Regions from separate parts of the Homo sapiens genome. Here region 1 is linked to region 2. The links are contacts of gene promoters, found by promoter capture Hi-C in blood cells and fetal thymus (Javierre and others, 2016). All regions are on one chromosome and are shown on one strand. Each heading gives the region's core, a stretch centred on a gene start or on the middle of the fragment in contact. The rest is flanking DNA. Distances are from core to core; before and after follow the strand shown. Region 1 overlaps KMT2A (lysine methyltransferase 2A). Region 2 holds the start of ATP5MG (ATP synthase membrane subunit g).

Region 1 (3,341 bases), core at 511-3,010, 72 kb after region 2:
CCTTCTTGCTCATCTAAAATTGTAAGAAAATCAGTTTTGTGGATTAATTGTTCAACTGAAAACTTTTTATTATCTTTTTGTATCAAAAAAGTAATTAAATGTTCTTTCAGGTGGAATGTTATTTGCTGACTTCTTTGAGGCAAATTTTGGGTGAAAAGAAACTAAGCACAATTAAGATGTTTGATTGACTCATTAGACTCAAGTTGAACTCAGTACAAAATGGCCAGTGCTAAGTTATATTCAGCTTAGTTAAAACCTAAACTACACAGCTAAATATATGCTCTTCATTGTTTAATTTCTATACACAGTTAAAACTAGTCCTCGAAAACCTCGTGGGAGACCTAGAAGTGGCTCTGACCGAAATTCAGCTATCCTCTCAGATCCATCTGTGTTTTCCCCTCTAAATAAATCAGAGACCAAATCTGGAGATAAGATCAAGAAGAAAGATTCTAAAAGTATAGAAAAGAAGAGAGGAAGACCTCCCACCTTCCCTGGAGTAAAAATCAAAATAACACATGGAAAGGACATTTCAGAGTTACCAAAGGGAAACAAAGAAGATAGCCTGAAAAAAATTAAAAGGACACCTTCTGCTACGTTTCAGCAAGCCACAAAGATTAAAAAATTAAGAGCAGGTAAACTCTCTCCTCTCAAGTCTAAGTTTAAGACAGGGAAGCTTCAAATAGGAAGGAAGGGGGTACAAATTGTACGACGGAGAGGAAGGCCTCCATCAACAGAAAGGATAAAGACCCCTTCGGGTCTCCTCATTAATTCTGAACTGGAAAAGCCCCAGAAAGTCCGGAAAGACAAGGAAGGAACACCTCCACTTACAAAAGAAGATAAGACAGTTGTCAGACAAAGCCCTCGAAGGATTAAGCCAGTTAGGATTATTCCTTCTTCAAAAAGGACAGATGCAACCATTGCTAAGCAACTCTTACAGAGGGCAAAAAAGGGGGCTCAAAAGAAAATTGAAAAAGAAGCAGCTCAGCTGCAGGGAAGAAAGGTGAAGACACAGGTCAAAAATATTCGACAGTTCATCATGCCTGTTGTCAGTGCTATCTCCTCGCGGATCATTAAGACCCCTCGGCGGTTTATAGAGGATGAGGATTATGACCCTCCAATTAAAATTGCCCGATTAGAGTCTACACCGAATAGTAGATTCAGTGCCCCGTCCTGTGGATCTTCTGAAAAATCAAGTGCAGCTTCTCAGCACTCCTCTCAAATGTCTTCAGACTCCTCTCGATCTAGTAGCCCCAGTGTTGATACCTCCACAGACTCTCAGGCTTCTGAGGAGATTCAGGTACTTCCTGAGGAGCGGAGCGATACCCCTGAAGTTCATCCTCCACTGCCCATTTCCCAGTCCCCAGAAAATGAGAGTAATGATAGGAGAAGCAGAAGGTATTCAGTGTCGGAGAGAAGTTTTGGATCTAGAACGACGAAAAAATTATCAACTCTACAAAGTGCCCCCCAGCAGCAGACCTCCTCGTCTCCACCTCCACCTCTGCTGACTCCACCGCCACCACTGCAGCCAGCCTCCAGTATCTCTGACCACACACCTTGGCTTATGCCTCCAACAATCCCCTTAGCATCACCATTTTTGCCTGCTTCCACTGCTCCTATGCAAGGGAAGCGAAAATCTATTTTGCGAGAACCGACATTTAGGTGGACTTCTTTAAAGCATTCTAGGTCAGAGCCACAATACTTTTCCTCAGCAAAGTATGCCAAAGAAGGTCTTATTCGCAAACCAATATTTGATAATTTCCGACCCCCTCCACTAACTCCCGAGGACGTTGGCTTTGCATCTGGTTTTTCTGCATCTGGTACCGCTGCTTCAGCCCGATTGTTTTCGCCACTCCATTCTGGAACAAGGTTTGATATGCACAAAAGGAGCCCTCTTCTGAGAGCTCCAAGATTTACTCCAAGTGAGGCTCACTCTAGAATATTTGAGTCTGTAACCTTGCCTAGTAATCGAACTTCTGCTGGAACATCTTCTTCAGGAGTATCCAATAGAAAAAGGAAAAGAAAAGTGTTTAGTCCTATTCGATCTGAACCAAGATCTCCTTCTCACTCCATGAGGACAAGAAGTGGAAGGCTTAGTAGTTCTGAGCTCTCACCTCTCACCCCCCCGTCTTCTGTCTCTTCCTCGTTAAGCATTTCTGTTAGTCCTCTTGCCACTAGTGCCTTAAACCCAACTTTTACTTTTCCTTCTCATTCCCTGACTCAGTCTGGGGAATCTGCAGAGAAAAATCAGAGACCAAGGAAGCAGACTAGTGCTCCGGCAGAGCCATTTTCATCAAGTAGTCCTACTCCTCTCTTCCCTTGGTTTACCCCAGGCTCTCAGACTGAAAGAGGGAGAAATAAAGACAAGGCCCCCGAGGAGCTGTCCAAAGATCGAGATGCTGACAAGAGCGTGGAGAAGGACAAGAGTAGAGAGAGAGACCGGGAGAGAGAAAAGGAGAATAAGCGGGAGTCAAGGAAAGAGAAAAGGAAAAAGGGATCAGAAATTCAGAGTAGTTCTGCTTTGTATCCTGTGGGTAGGGTTTCCAAAGAGAAGGTTGTTGGTGAAGATGTTGCCACTTCATCTTCTGCCAAAAAAGCAACAGGGCGGAAGAAGTCTTCATCACATGATTCTGGGACTGATATTACTTCTGTGACTCTTGGGGATACAACAGCTGTCAAAACCAAAATACTTATAAAGAAAGGGAGAGGAAATCTGGAAAAAACCAACTTGGACCTCGGCCCAACTGCCCCATCCCTGGAGAAGGAGAAAACCCTCTGCCTTTCCACTCCTTCATCTAGCACTGTTAAACATTCCACTTCCTCCATAGGCTCCATGTTGGCTCAGGCAGACAAGCTTCCAATGACTGACAAGAGGGTTGCCAGCCTCCTAAAAAAGGCCAAAGCTCAGCTCTGCAAGATTGAGAAGAGTAAGAGTCTTAAACAAACCGACCAGCCCAAAGCACAGGTACTCTTTTCCACCTTGCCTATTAAAACTAACAGTTTATTGAGCCCTTTCTATGGGCAAGTTTTAGGCTAAGTGGTTCAATTACATCCAGTTATGAGAACCAAGAAAAGTATGGTGGAGGCAGTGGTATTTGCAGTAGTCCTTCAAGGACCAGTAGGATTTTGATAGGTAGAAAGTGGCAGGACATAACATTCTAAGTAGAGGGAACAGTGTGGGTAGAAATGGAAAAGTAAGAAATATATTTGAGGAATACTGGATAGCTGGATTGGCATCTGTGGAAAACTGGTGAACTAAGGCTGAATGAACTAAGGTTGGGACTATATCACAGAGGATGCTGAGTTGTTTGTACCTTATAAGTTTGATGTAATTAAACCAGGGA
Region 2 (3,080 bases), core at 48-2,547:
TTTCTTTCCATCTCTCTAACCATTCCAAAAATCGGAGATTTACTTCTGCTCAGACTTCCCCAGGTTACATTACTTATAGTTCTGTTCCTCTCATCAAATGCCACTTCCCTACATACATCTTTTCCTCCTCATATTAAACTATGAAGTTTCAGCCCTCTGTAGTATACAGCTGTTCTCTTACACATCGGCTCAAGGATCTTTTCTAGGAAGTATGCTGAAATCAGCACCATGCCTAATCTGATGGAATGCCCCCTCTCTGAGTATACATTGCAACTTCAGATCTCAACTCTGCCACTTCCAAACTGTGTGGCCATTTTTCAAGCCCAGTCTCAATGGGGACAATGCCTTACAGGCTTTCTTTAAATTCCAAAATGCCTGGCATAGTGTGGGCGTTCAATACAGGTGATTTTTTCCTCACATCTGCACAGCTCCTTGTGGTTAACTAGGGAATTAGGGGAAATGGATTCCAATCGTGATACAGCACTTTGGGGAGATTGGGATTACAAAAAATCAACTTTAAAAGGGCTATGGGGCCAGGCGCGGTGATTCACGCCTGTAATCCCAGCACCAAGGCGGGTGGATCACTTGAAGCTAGGAGTTCGAGACCAGCCTGGCCAACATGGTGAAACACCGTCTCTACTAAAAGTACAAAAATTAGCCAGGCGTGGTGGCGGGCGCCTGTAGTCCCATCTACTAGGGAGACTGAGGCACAACAATCGCTGGAACCCGGGGGACAGAGGTTGCAGTGAGCCGAAGTCGTGCCACTGCACTTCAGCCTGGGCGACAGAGCGAGACTGTCTCAAATAAAAAGGGCTATGGGTTGAGCCTGGTGACAGCCTGTGTGGTGATTGCTCGGCCCCTAACTTTATATGTTTGGCCTTGGACCCTCTCTACCTCTGTACAACGATCGTGTTGGACTAGAAGAATCTCAGCGAATCCTTCTCCAGTACTGACTTCAAAGGTTCTCAGAATCGCGGCGAAAGCACCCTACGCAAAATAGCGGAGGTCGGCGCCAAGAAAAGCACTGCAGGTTCAGGGCGCATGCGCATTTCCGCTCCTTGCCGGTTTTCCGGACCTCTACGAGTGGCTGCCCCACAAAATGCCTGCTTCTCTGCGGAATCCTACTGTTCTTCACATGCTCTCTAATACCATCTTTTCATATCCACTTTCTCTTCCATGTTGAAAAATTAAATTGACAGGCTGGATTCTGCAAAGATCTTTGGACATTTAAGTATCTTCGACCGGCGCGAAAAGAGGCGGCCTGACCTTGGAAGTGGGACGGGGTCCTGCAGCGGGTCCTTCCGGCGGGTGACATTCAGCCGGCGGTTCGGGGCGACGGACTCTCCATTCCAGAACCATGGCCCAATTTGTCCGTAACCTTGTGGAGAAGACCCCGGCGCTGGTGAACGGTGAGCGCGATGTGAGACCGCCGAGGCGGGCACACGGGCGGCAGGGAGGCCTGCGATGGCCTGAGAGGAAGAAGCGGGCTGCGAAGACCCGAGGGGCCTGCGGGTGCCGGGGCGGGATGGCCTGCAGGTGGAGGGAGCAGGAAGCAGGTTGGCGACTCTTTTCTAGCCTTCCACTCGTCTGACCTGCAGATTGGGTTCTCTACACAACCTAGAAGTTCCTGAATTCTAACCACGACTGGGAAGAGAGGTAGTGTGAAGGAAGCCCGGCGTTGCCCGGCAGCTGCAACCATTACGCCCCCTGAGATCGCTAAGAGCAGGGATCTAGAGGGGATGGTTCTGTTAGGAGAGCTAAGAAAAGGAAGGGCAGAAACGTGAAAGTAAATCAATTCGGCCTCATTACATGTGGTGTTGTTCTCAGTGGAGTATTTGGAAGTCAACAGAAATGTTTAAGGATGGGTGAGCTTTTTTGAACGTTGACTTTGCTTTCTGTCCTAGACGGATTCTAAGATACTTCCGCTTTAATCCGAGGGAAATTTTAGGTGGAAATGGACTTCATGGATGAGTATCCATGCCCCGAGAAGCATAGGACGGGATCCGTATAAACAATAATCTTTGTTACGAAGCTTAGCATTCGTGGAATTTTTTCAGCTTGAAGAGCCTCACTGGTAGACCGCTGTATTTCACAACAACCCTGAATAATCACAGCCTCTGAGTACTAGTTTATTTGGCCAGTAAATATTTCAGTTGTCTTCTCAGTGGCAAGCTATTCATTTTATTCCTGAAGTGAGATAAGCTAAATTGACGTAAGTTTTTCCTAGATGTGCTGTATTCCAGTAAGTGACTGAAGGTCGGATCTCTTAACTTTTGCCTACGTTTATGAAATGTGAATAGAAAGCAGAACTTCAAAAAAAATGTAATACTTTCTAGCCTATTTTGCTGTGTTTGAGTTTGGTTTGGGTATTTTCTTTTTCTTTCTTTCTTTTTTTTTTTTTTTTTTCCTAGAAGACAGGGACTCACTCTGTCGCCCAGGCTGGAGTGCAGTGCAGATCACAGCTCACTGCAGCCTCCACCTCCTAGGCTCAAGCGATCCTCCCACCTCAGCCTCCTGAGTAGCTGGGATCACAGGCACGCACCACCACACCCAGCTAATTTTTGTATGTTTTAAGAGACGGGATTTCACCATGTTGCCCAGGCTAGTCTCTTAACTCCTGGGCTCAAGGGATCCTCCCGCCTCGGTCTCCTAAAGTGCCAGAGTTACAGGTGTGAGCCACAGCGCCAGCCGGGTAATTTATCCATTCTCTCCTCCCTTCCCTCCATCACCAGCCAAACTATGAGTTATTGAAGGCTGTCCTGCAGAACCTCACAGCCTACTAGTGAAACATTTTACACATTTTCCCAAATAATTTCATAAGCTTGCAAGAAAATCTTTTACTTTACTAAGATTGTTAAGATACCTGTCATAGAGCTCTACAATTTTATATAAATCAAAAGAGATGGCCCTGCGGCGGTAGCTTACGCCTGTAATCTCAGCACTTTGGGAGGCCAAGGCGGGCAGATCACTTGAGGGCAGGAGTTCGAGACCAGCCTGGCCAACATAGTGAAACCCCATCTCTACAAAAAATACAAAAATTAGGCAGGCTTGGTGGTGCATGTCTGTAATCGCAGCTACTT

What was found. The method cuts DNA at HindIII sites, captures the fragments that hold promoters and counts their contacts. A CHiCAGO score of 5 or more calls a contact.
Region 1: a fragment that was not itself captured here is called in contact with the fragment with the promoter of ATP5MG in region 2 in 8 of 17 cell types (activated CD4 T cells, megakaryocytes, naive CD4 T cells and 5 more); the score reaches 6.8 in activated CD4 T cells.

The regions. Positions count from the first base shown.
Region 1 is chr11:118,471,354-118,474,694 of GRCh38, forward strand. KMT2A (lysine methyltransferase 2A) reads left to right here. Exons shown (of 36, transcript NM_001197104.2): 3 at 309-2,962. Among named protein-coding and RNA genes, the nearest start is that of KMT2A, 37 kb to the left of the region's middle. The HindIII fragment of the contact is 2,178 bases long and covers 672-2,849 here.
Region 2 is chr11:118,400,309-118,403,388 of GRCh38, forward strand. It overlaps ATP5MG (ATP synthase membrane subunit g), which reads left to right and starts at 1,298. Exons shown (of 3, transcript NM_006476.5): 1 at 1,298-1,409. The coding sequence starts at 1,358. The region is part of intron 3 of LOC100131626 (a long non-coding RNA gene); the gene reads right to left. RefSeq lists enhancers at 959-1,038, 1,159-2,022, 2,481-3,071. The HindIII fragment of the contact is 3,431 bases long and covers 1-2,030 here.